Linked DNA regions of Homo sapiens: region 2 is linked to region 1. Evidence: promoter capture Hi-C in 16 types of primary human blood cells and fetal thymus (Javierre and others, 2016). All regions are on one chromosome and are shown on one strand. Each heading gives the region's core, a stretch centred on a gene start or on the middle of the fragment in contact. The rest is flanking DNA. Distances are from core to core; before and after follow the strand shown. Region 1 holds the start of DYRK3 (dual specificity tyrosine phosphorylation regulated kinase 3). Region 2 overlaps IL19 (interleukin 19).

Evidence for each region. The method cuts DNA at HindIII sites, captures the fragments that hold promoters and counts their contacts. A CHiCAGO score of 5 or more calls a contact.
Region 2: a fragment that was not itself captured here is called in contact with the fragment with the promoter of DYRK3 in region 1 in 1 of 17 cell types (M2 macrophages); the score reaches 5.2 in M2 macrophages.

Annotation. Positions count from the first base shown.
Region 1 is chr1:206,631,931-206,637,187 of GRCh38, forward strand. DYRK3 (dual specificity tyrosine phosphorylation regulated kinase 3) reads left to right here and starts at 3,606. Exons shown (of 3, transcript NM_003582.4): 1 at 3,606-3,850. The coding sequence starts at 3,774. DYRK3-AS1 (DYRK3 antisense RNA 1) reads right to left here and starts at 3,738. Exons shown (of 2, transcript NR_183645.1): 1 at 3,670-3,738; 2 at 2,266-3,053. RefSeq lists silencers at 3,466-3,885, 3,936-4,045. The HindIII fragment of the contact is 1,008 bases long and covers 2,906-3,913 here.
Region 2 is chr1:206,801,454-206,806,226 of GRCh38, forward strand. All of the region lies in intron 2 of IL19 (interleukin 19), which reads left to right. Among named protein-coding and RNA genes, the nearest start is that of IL10, 31 kb to the left of the region's middle. RefSeq lists an enhancer at 1,725-1,774. The HindIII fragment of the contact is 756 bases long and covers 2,353-3,108 here.

The DNA of each region.
Region 1 (5,257 bases), core at 2,356-4,855:
TGTGTTTTTAGTAGAGACGGGGTTTCACCATGTTGGCCAGGGTGGTCTCGAACTCCTGACCTCAGGTGATCCGCCCACTTCGGCCTCCCAAAGTGCTGGGATTACAGGCATGAGTTACTGCACCTGGCCTCCCCTTCCATCTTAAAAGGACTCCTGTGATTACAGTGGGCCCACTCAGATAATCTAGGAAAATCACCCCATCTCAAGATCCTTAACTTCATCACATTTGCTAAGTCCCTTTTTGTCAAGTAAAGTGACATATTTACAGATTCTTGGAATTAGGATGCGGACATCTTTGGGGAACTATCATTCTGCTTACCATCTTCAGAATCTTAAATCAAGAGAAACTATGTCACAGAATTCAAGGGTCCAGTGGTCTAGCCTGGGCTAGCCTGCCAGGCTCAGGGAATACAGGTGGAATACAGGCAGTCGAGGGGCTGAGTTTTTCAACCAAACAGACCAGGGTTTGAATTTCAGTTCATCACTTACTGGCTGGGTGACCTTGGGCAAGTTATTAAACTCTGAGACTGTTTTCTGAAGTGTAGGATGGAGATAATACCTATCTCACGGGACTACTGTGAGTTTTAAATGAGCAAATATGTTAAAGTGCTTCAGATAGTGCTTGGAACATAATAAATACTTAGCAAATGGTAATGATGATTAGAAAGACTCCTGGTTTGGTTTCAAGATTTCAGAAATGAAGCTTCATAGGACCCCTCAGGGCTATAGGTGGAACTGGTCACGCTGACTTAGGAGGAACAAGTGGAAAAAGATGGCAAAAGTTTTGGAAAAGAAAAATAGGTGAAGAGTTTGTGATAATAAGGACAACCTTTAGGGTTTAGGAGACACAGAACTAAGTGTGTCTTAGTTGTAGCTGTACTACAGCACTGCGGGCATGGCTTTTGTTTGCTTTGTTAATAAGGGGCATTTTTCAAATCTTGGTGGAGAGGGGAGGGCATAAGAACAGGAGATGCCTGAGGTATAGAAGAGAGACAGTTTTCTGAGGCTCCAGAAAAATAAGCCATGGCTTTAGTGTTCCAGTGAGCTAGATTTCAGTGTTTCTGAAAAAAATAGCAAGTATACATTTCAGGAACACGGGTCAATTTGAGGTTAACATAGCTTGAGGAAAAAAGTAAGTTTCACTGGTTCTCTCCAGTGATTTTTAAAAAATATTTTCCAATTCTGTGATGCACATGTCACAGTAGGCATTATGGCACATTTTGCTGTACAGAAATGTCAATGAAACTTGTCCAAACTTAACATAACCTACTAACAGCTATTTTATCACAAAATTCCAGGTAAATGTGGCCACGGGGATGTTTTCTTAATCTGTGCATTTGAAACTTTGATCACATTGTGAATGTCCCAGTGGGTTTTTAAGATCCTGGAATAGTTGCATCTTTTTTACTGTTGTTTATTTCCTTAGTCAATGTATTAGAACTTGCAGGTACCTTATTTTGCAGATGTCTTGGAATTGGCTTCAAAGGACAGACATGCATCTTATATGACTTTTGGCTAATTCATGGTGGGTAAATCTGACTTTAACTGCATGGAGAATGATAATGGTGATTTTAAACTACTCTTGAATGAGGCTTTGGAGGGGAAGAAAGGGCATGAATGATGTGGAAGCTGCTTGGGAGCTGGAGGGGACAGGGCAGCGCTCAGCAGGGGTGTGGAGGCTCCTGCCAGATCCCTTATGGGACGTTAACCCCATCATACAGGGGATCTTTGAAGAAACATTGGGTCACTAAGGTCAGAGATTTATGAAGCTCCAGCACCCTCGAGGAGTCCTCTTTCCCTTGACCATGGGAACAATAGGCGAAAGACAAAGGCGGCCTCTGTATTTCCCACCTTAGGAGCAAGAAAGGGAGCAGGAACCCTTCCACTTGGCTCTGGAAGATGTGTCTTAAGCACAGACTGCGGATGCAATCCTCTCACGAGCAGTGATTCAGAATGAGGTAAGAAATCATGTGGGGGCAAGTCTCATTCAACTGTTTAGGGAGGGCAGTAAAGTGGTCTGAGGTGTCTACATAAGTACTGAGAACGGGGATTATTTAATAGAATTTTGCAATCTTAGAGCTGGAAGGGACTTCAACAGTAACCTCGTCCAATCTTTGCGTTGCCATGGAACTCTTTCTTCAAACAAAAGCTTCGTAAGAGCCCAAATACAAACCCCTGTGAAAGCAGAATTGCTCTGGTTGCAAAGTGGGGGAAGGGAGAGACAAAAAGAAAAAGTTTATTTATAAAATAAACTTTAAAAAATCATCATGGAAGAAAACTTTTTTATTTATATGTATATCATAGAAAGGCTAAAGTAACATTGATCACAAAAAATAAAATTCCCCAAACCAATAGATTATTAGTTTATACAGTGAAGATACTTTGGCTCTTTAGGGACATTTTTACTTGGAGTCACGAGAACAGAGAATATGACTTTTAGTCACACGGAAATGAGCCTTGGATGGGAATTTTTAAGATTTATGGGAACTGTGTGCTATGCTGATTTGGGACAATAAGCGTTCTAGTCCCACCAGGTGGCGCCCGCGTTCGGCATTCTGAGAACGTTTGGTGTCTTCTGGACTCCAGAATCTGGACGGTCCGACCGCCTCGTGCTTGGTGGGTTTACAAACTCTGACTGGTTCTTACCACCCATCTAACAGGAAATTTTTTTTTTTTAAAAACAAACCAACCCATAAAACATCTGACCAGATGCCACACTCAAGAAAACACTTGTATTCGGGTGTTTTAACCTCCAACGATGGAAATCTGCTTAACATTGGTGTTTCTGAGGTGTCTTAGCATCAGAAAAGGAAAAAGACACATATACACACATTCTAAGGAAAAAGTCAGGAAGGGCCTTGCAGAGGTAGGTCCTGGTGCGGCAAGAGGACGGTTAGGCGTTAGAAGCTTCTAGTTCAGGCTTTGCCGCTTCATGCTCATGAGGAAGCGCGGCTCCTTTGGCCTCAGTTTCCTGCGCTGCCTTCCCGTCTGTGGCTGACTGTTGCAGGGTAGTCAGACAAAGGCCCAGCTTCTATTCTGCATCCCAGCTAAGTCTGTAAAAGACGAAAGTCGTCGGGTACCTCCGTTACTGAGATCAAATGTTCATAAATGGAAGCATCGTGTCAATAAATGGGTTTATTATTATTGCTTTCTTATGTAACTCACCAACCCCCGGAGGGCCGTCCCCGCGGTGGGAAAGCCTAAAACAATACACATATGTTTTCACTAATTTAAAATTCATATTGAAGCGGGACGTTTTAGAACTTCCAGGACGCAACGTGCTATTAAGGGACCGTGAGGGGCGGGCAGCCCTTCTGAGATCGCGGGCTAACTGCTACTTTCACCCCTCCTTCTCCGGACCCCTCTCTCCGTCTACAGCTCGCGCCAGGGACCCAAACAGCCTAGGCCGCGAGCTCCTCGCCTCCAACCTCCCGCCTCCCGCGCCAGTACTAGCACCCGCTAGGAGCGCCGCGTGGCCTTTACCGGCCACGGGCCCCGCCCCTGTGCGTCAGCCCGTAGCTGCGCCGAGGCGTTTCCCGGGGGCGTGCCGCGGTTGCTAGGCGACCAGACCGCTCCCCCTCCCGCCCCTGGAGCTGCGTCTCCCCACTTCCCAGCCGGGGCCAGTCGGGAGCGAAAGTGCGCTGAGCTGCAGTGTCTGGTCGAGAGTACCCGTGGGAGCGTCGCGCCGCGGAGGCAGCCGTCCCGGCGTAGGTGGCGTGGCCGACCGGACCCCCAACTGGCGCCTCTCCCCGCGCGGGGTCCCGAGCTAGGAGATGGGAGGCACAGCTCGTGGGCCTGGGCGGAAGGATGCGGGGCCGCCTGGGGCCGGGCTCCCGCCCCAGCAGCGGAGGTAACGGCGCCACGGGGTAACGGGCTGGAGGCGCCACAGGGAGCGGCTGGCGCTGGCAAGCGAAGCTTGGGGGTGGGGAGGAGGTAGAGTGAGCCCTCAGTAGGAGGGACGAGGGCAGGGGTCTGACTGCCTCCCCGGGACCGCCCCCACCTCCTCTCTATCAGGGCCCCCTCCCCCCATCCCTGTCTCACCGGGCGCGGGGGACGGGGCTAGAGCGGAGTTAGAGCAAGAAGAATTTCCACCCCTGGATTCCCTCTGAAACCCTAGATCGGGGTATATGTTAAGGGATTACGAAAATCTAGGACTTTTTGTGGGGCTTTTTATTAAAGGGGGGGAGCCCGGGAGCAATACCTTGGAAAGAAGCCCTGTTGCTTAGAGCGGATAACCAACGGCTGAACTCTTGGGGTTTGCTGTGAGGGGTGCGGTCTAGCTTCGAATGTACAGGTTATGGGCTATGCTGGGTACGGCTTTCTCCGGATCCTATTTTGAGAGATTCCCCACCTTGCGTTGTATTTTACACCTAAATGGAGAGAAGAGACCCTTGCTCCCCGCTTTATTTGCATGCAGACTCTTGTTAATTTCCTCTGGCTGTTAGTCACTAGGCAATTTTGCACGTTTTCTTTTTCTTTATATATGTGGACGCCTATCCTGGTTTGTTTTATCAGGCTTATGGCAAAGGGTCAGTCACATCCAGAATATTTGGTTTCTGTTGGTGAAGCCATTCCCTGTTAAAAATATAAATAATTCTATCAGAATGTGAGCATGTTTTTAAAAAGAGCATTCCAAAAATATTTGTAGCGGTTTTTTTCCCTTTATATTTTTATAACACATCTATAAAGAAAACTCTAGAATGAATTTCACAAAACAGTTTTTAAGGTGACCAGAATATTCCAGGATATTTTAAAAGACGTTAAAAAATTATTCCTCTGCAACATCATCATTGTTATATTCATAGTGTATCATGTAAAATGATACAATGAAATGCTGATGTGTGTAACTGGGAAATCCGTGTTCTTGGTAGCAGATGAAATACATTATTCAGGGCCATCTTGTGGATTAAATAAATCCTCTCCGTCTTTTGTGTTCCCTTACAGTGGTGGAGCCACAGTGTTAAAGAACAGAGAAGTGATCCTTAATCATTTAGAATTTTGCCTCCACCATCCACCAGAAAATGAAGTGGAAAGAGAAGTAAATTCAATACATTTTATAATTTAGAGCATCCTTTTAGCGTTTGCTGTAGTACTTACTGTATTTTTCTGCAGGTTAGGTAGATGTAAGTAGGTAAGTAAGTAAATGAATAAAGAGAAGACAGCCTTAAAAAGGCCTTTTATTTCTTGCCTGTAAGACCCAGAAGTGTGAAGACTGGAGCTAGTCTTCCCATTAACATGGGGAAGACAGGCTCAGAGG
Region 2 (4,773 bases), core at 1,481-3,980, 170 kb after region 1:
TCTGTGCCCTCCCCATTCCTGGTCAGCCTCCAGCACTGTTGGCCCAACTGCCTATCTCAGACCTCTATGGCTCTGGGTCAGTCTTAGACAAACTACTCCCTCTTCTCTCCCTGTCAAGCATCACTTATCCTTCCGGTCAAAGTTCTGTGTCTCTATAAAGGCTTCTCCATCCCACCTGAGTCAGACCCAAGAGCTCCCTCTTCTGTGCTGTCCCAGCACTTTTGAGTCACTTCTATTATTACCCCCACTTCCTTGGAGGACAGTTATCTGTTCTTATGTTCATATTGTTCTTATGTTCTTAAGTAGACTGAATTTCTTGGGGACTAGACCTTAATCATCTCTATATCCCTGGTCATGAGCAACAGTGCCTGACACATCACAGACTCACAATACATACTCTGTTTGTCAATGAAGGGTGATTACCTGGGTATCTTGACTGTTGGGATTGAGGTAGGATGAAGGCAGCTTTGGGAAGAACTCCAGTGAGCAGAAAAAGGGAAGGGACATTTGGGTGGAAGAAACAGTTTGAACGAAGGCACCTCCATAGAAAGGCATGGACAAACATGGGAGCTTGCAGGAAAGGAGGGGAAGGGGAGGCTGCAGCACAGGGGGCTCCCAGCATGGTCCTGGGCTCCTTGTGTGCATCAGTGAATGCACCAGGCCTTTGCAGAAACTTGATGTATTGGCACTGATCCATAGAGAAGGGAACAGAGGCCCAGGAAGGAAGGTCACACAGCTTATGAGTTGGTGATGGAGATGGGATTAGACCATTCCATTAGACTTTAAAACACATGGCTTATTGGGGCCCTAGAGAACACCTAGTAATTCAGGTTGCCTGGTGCCTACAGTAAGTCAGTAGGTTGTGAGAGGAAAGGTGTACATGACAGAATTATATTATTCATAATATCTGGGTGGTTTTTTTTTCTGCCTTCCATGTACCAAAACCTGGGCTAAGCATTTTTATATATTACCTCATCAAAACGAACAGCACCTTTATCAAGCGATTACCCCTATTTTACAGATAAGGAAACTAAATGTCAGAGAGTTCAATAATTTTCCCAAGATCACGAAGCCAATAAGTGATGGAGTCATGACTTAAATTCAGGTCTTTTGGTGACACAACCCAGACTAATTGGGAAAGAGCTTCATGGGTAAATCGTGAGTCATACTTAATTTCAATTCCTGGTGACATAATGAGGGTACAAATTTTCAATTTTTTTTTTCTTTTTTTTTTGCCATGGGCAAGTTCCAAGCCTGGGCTTCTCTTCCAACACTGTCCCTCCCTTCCCTGTATAGTTCTGCTCACTTGTCCTGTCTTCTTGCTCTGTCCTCTATGCCCACATGTATAGAACTGGATCCCCAATCAAGGCTAACTGCTAGCCTTAAAGAAAGACCAATCTTCTGGCAGATAAGAAGGACTGTTAAGGAAGACGAGGGGACAGGAAAGCAAGGGGAATGTCAAAGAAATAAGGGGCCTGGCCAATATCTCAAGAACAGAAGCAGCTGTGGCCCTGGAAGGGCGAGGGGGACGTCATTTCCTTTTCCAGATCCCTTTTTTCCTTTGAGGTTCAGTCCCAAATGGGTAAAGTTCAAATACTAGTCTTACTCAGAATTCCCTAGTCCTGCTTGCTCAAAAGGTGGATTTTCTGGCCTCACTCCAATCTTCAAAACATCTTTTTGTGGGGCTTGAGAGTCTGCCTTTTAAAATAGCACCCCAGAGAGTCTACACATTGAGGGCCTTGGCTTCTGTAATGCAGTTACATCCATGGGCTTTCGCTGTTGCTGCTGAGAGAACTTGGGGTGCCAGGAAGTCGGGGTTGGATGCCTTCCAGTTCCCTGCCCTAATCAGAGGCATTGACCTGGAGGCCCTGTGTAGGAGTCCCCATCTTTCGGAATTAGTGATGTGGTTAGAGTAGCAACGTGACTCTCTGTGGACGGAAGAAGGTAGGTCGGATGTGAGAGTCTCCCTCCATGAACATGTGTGCGTCATCTGAGTCAAAGCTTGTATCTTTACTCTCAAAAACAAGTCATTTTTGTTCCTGTCAGCATCTTGGCCAGCCCACAACAAAGAGTACAAGCTGGATGCTTGTACTGTGCTGCGATAAAGAGGCCCAGACACAGGCCTCAGGTGATCCTACAGAGCATGGCTGGAGAGAACAGGAAAGGATTATTCCCCTGGGGGCTGATGGGGCTGCCTTCAGCAACACAAAAACATGCTTACAGAAAACTGCTGGAGGACATAGGAGTGATCTGCTTGCAATGAGGTTTTTCAACCACCAGGAATGGGGTGACCTAGTCCAGAGCCCTCTAATAAAGTGACTTTCAAACTGACTGCACTTCAAAATAATCCTAAGCTTTAACAAATAGAGATGCCCAGGCTTCATCCCAGATGTACAAAATTCAACTCTCAGGGACAGGGTCTGGGACTCTGTGCAAAGCCCCCTGGGAATTCTGGAACAACTAATCTGGCATTGCTCTAGGAAATAGCACTTGGAAAGCACTCCAGCAAGGTGGGAGGGAAAATTATTCCAGCTTGAACACTACAATATCAAGTAATCCTTTCTCTCTTCGCCCTGTCTCTTCCCTTCCCTTTCTTGCTCTCTGTAACAGGCAGGAGGCTCAGAAGAGCTTCTTCTCTCACGCTTCTTGCAGGGCAGTACAGGGAAAGATGTAGCTGTGTAAATTCCAGGAGGGCTTCAGGTATATTTAAATATGGGTTGCTTGCCACATTCACCTGCCTATCAAGTTTGCAGATGACAACTGCAGAATGTGGCACCCAGGTCTTGAAAGTCATGAAGCAGAATTGGATAACATCTGTCCGAGTCATGACAAAGAGGGTTCCTGTGCTGGGAGTGGGGGCTAATGAACCTGGAGATCCTTTCCAACACAGACATTCCCTGATGCCAATGATAACCTTTTCAAATTGTTGTTTTCTTGATTTTTATCTGTTTCTGGCACCTCATTTGATTCCCTATATGACAATAACCCCCAGGTTGAGTGCACTGAAATAATTTAGGTAATGAGAAGCTGAAAGTTACTACAGATGGAAGGAATTAGGGTGTATAAAGTGTGCATTGTGTGAGTCATAGGCTGTGTCTTTAAGCAACAAGCTTTTATTGGTGTCAGCATCTTTCCAGGTACAATGCAAACCCAGTGAGAATGAGATTTGGGGTTTAAAAGTGTTTCTGACCAGAGATGCCTGAGGGAATGACCCAGGGATCAAACAGAGATGCAAGAGAGCAAGGCTTCAAGGAAACTCACCTCAGCCTGTTTCCTCAACTGCTTTCCGCACCTTTGTTTGCGGGTGGAAGAATAGAAAATGGGCTTGAATTTTTCAATCTAAAATTCTCTGTTCAAACCTGAAATTCTCTTACCTTATAGGAAGAGCAGCTGTATCTTTCAAGGATAGAATGGGTGCTAACTGCATGGGTGAAATTATCTGAATCCCAGAGAAATGCTCTTTAGAAGAATCCACCAGACTCCTTCCTTTCTAAATCATACCCTTCTTTGAAGTTCCTTTCAATCCTTGGATCCTCTGTGGACACTGTTCTGATCATTCAAGCACTAAATGATCACCTGCTACCTGCTGTCTGCATACCTGGCTCTGCTTCTAGAGTACACACCTGTATCGGCACAATTTATTTAGCTATTAGTCATGTATGTGTTTCTGATAGCTCTCAGTTAGCTGCCTGGGATGGTTATTTACCTTTTTGTGCTAGTTTTACCTTCTCAATGGGACTTTGAGCAAATTAAGAGTGAAAACACATCTGTACTGATCCGTTTACATGTCCAATAAATAGATTTTAGTGCCAACTTGTGCAGCCATTGCTCTAGGTCTTGATACAGATATATACCAGGTGGTAGAGGCTATAAAGACAAAGCAGGCTAAGGGGAGTTAAGTGATAGATTCAGGAAAATCATTGAGCTGAAAAATGAATAATAACCTCATTCACTTTTTTCTGTTTATCAAAGAATGCCATATGCTAGATGCTAAAACAATTTACATCTGTGTGACTAGAGCAAGCCATTATAAAAAGGAAACAATCCAAATGGAAGAAATATTTTATCAGGCTGGAAAACACAGTTATTGAATTAAACTCCAAAATGGAAGCCATAGCTTACAAATGGACACTGCAGAAAACTGAATTAATGAGTAAAAGGCAAACTGAAGATAAATTTCCTAGAACACAAAAGCAAAAGATAAAGAAATGAAAATGAAAGAATAGAGTAAACGTGAAATACAGATATCAAAGAGCTAACCTACACATAACAGGAGTTCCTAAAGATAATGAACAGATTCTTTTGGAGCAGAAGCCATATGTAGAAAATATAATGGCTTTAAGTAAAATCTTATTTTAAAAACTGAATGCGCTTACTGTATTCATCAGGAGTCTGGATCGTGTCAGGCTCAGTTCAAACCAGCTTAAACAAAAAAGGAATTTTGCTGGCTCACTTAATGAAGTCCAAGGGTTCACTAGGAATCCATCCCTGCTGCTCTTGCTTTTTTCTGGGTTGCCATCATTCTTGGGAGGGTTGTTCCTGTAGGGTGACATTCAGTATCTCCAGACTCACATTCTCCCAGTTTACCAATCCCAGTGGAAAAGAGAGTTCTAATACATGTACCATTAACCTTGGGTTAATCCTCGTTGATTTTGATTGGCTTGGCTTGGGTCATGTACTCACCCTTGAATCAATCTATGCAATTGAGAAGCGTTGTTGCCTTAATTTCACCGGCAGCACACACCCACTCCTGGGATGAGAGGATGGGTCAGC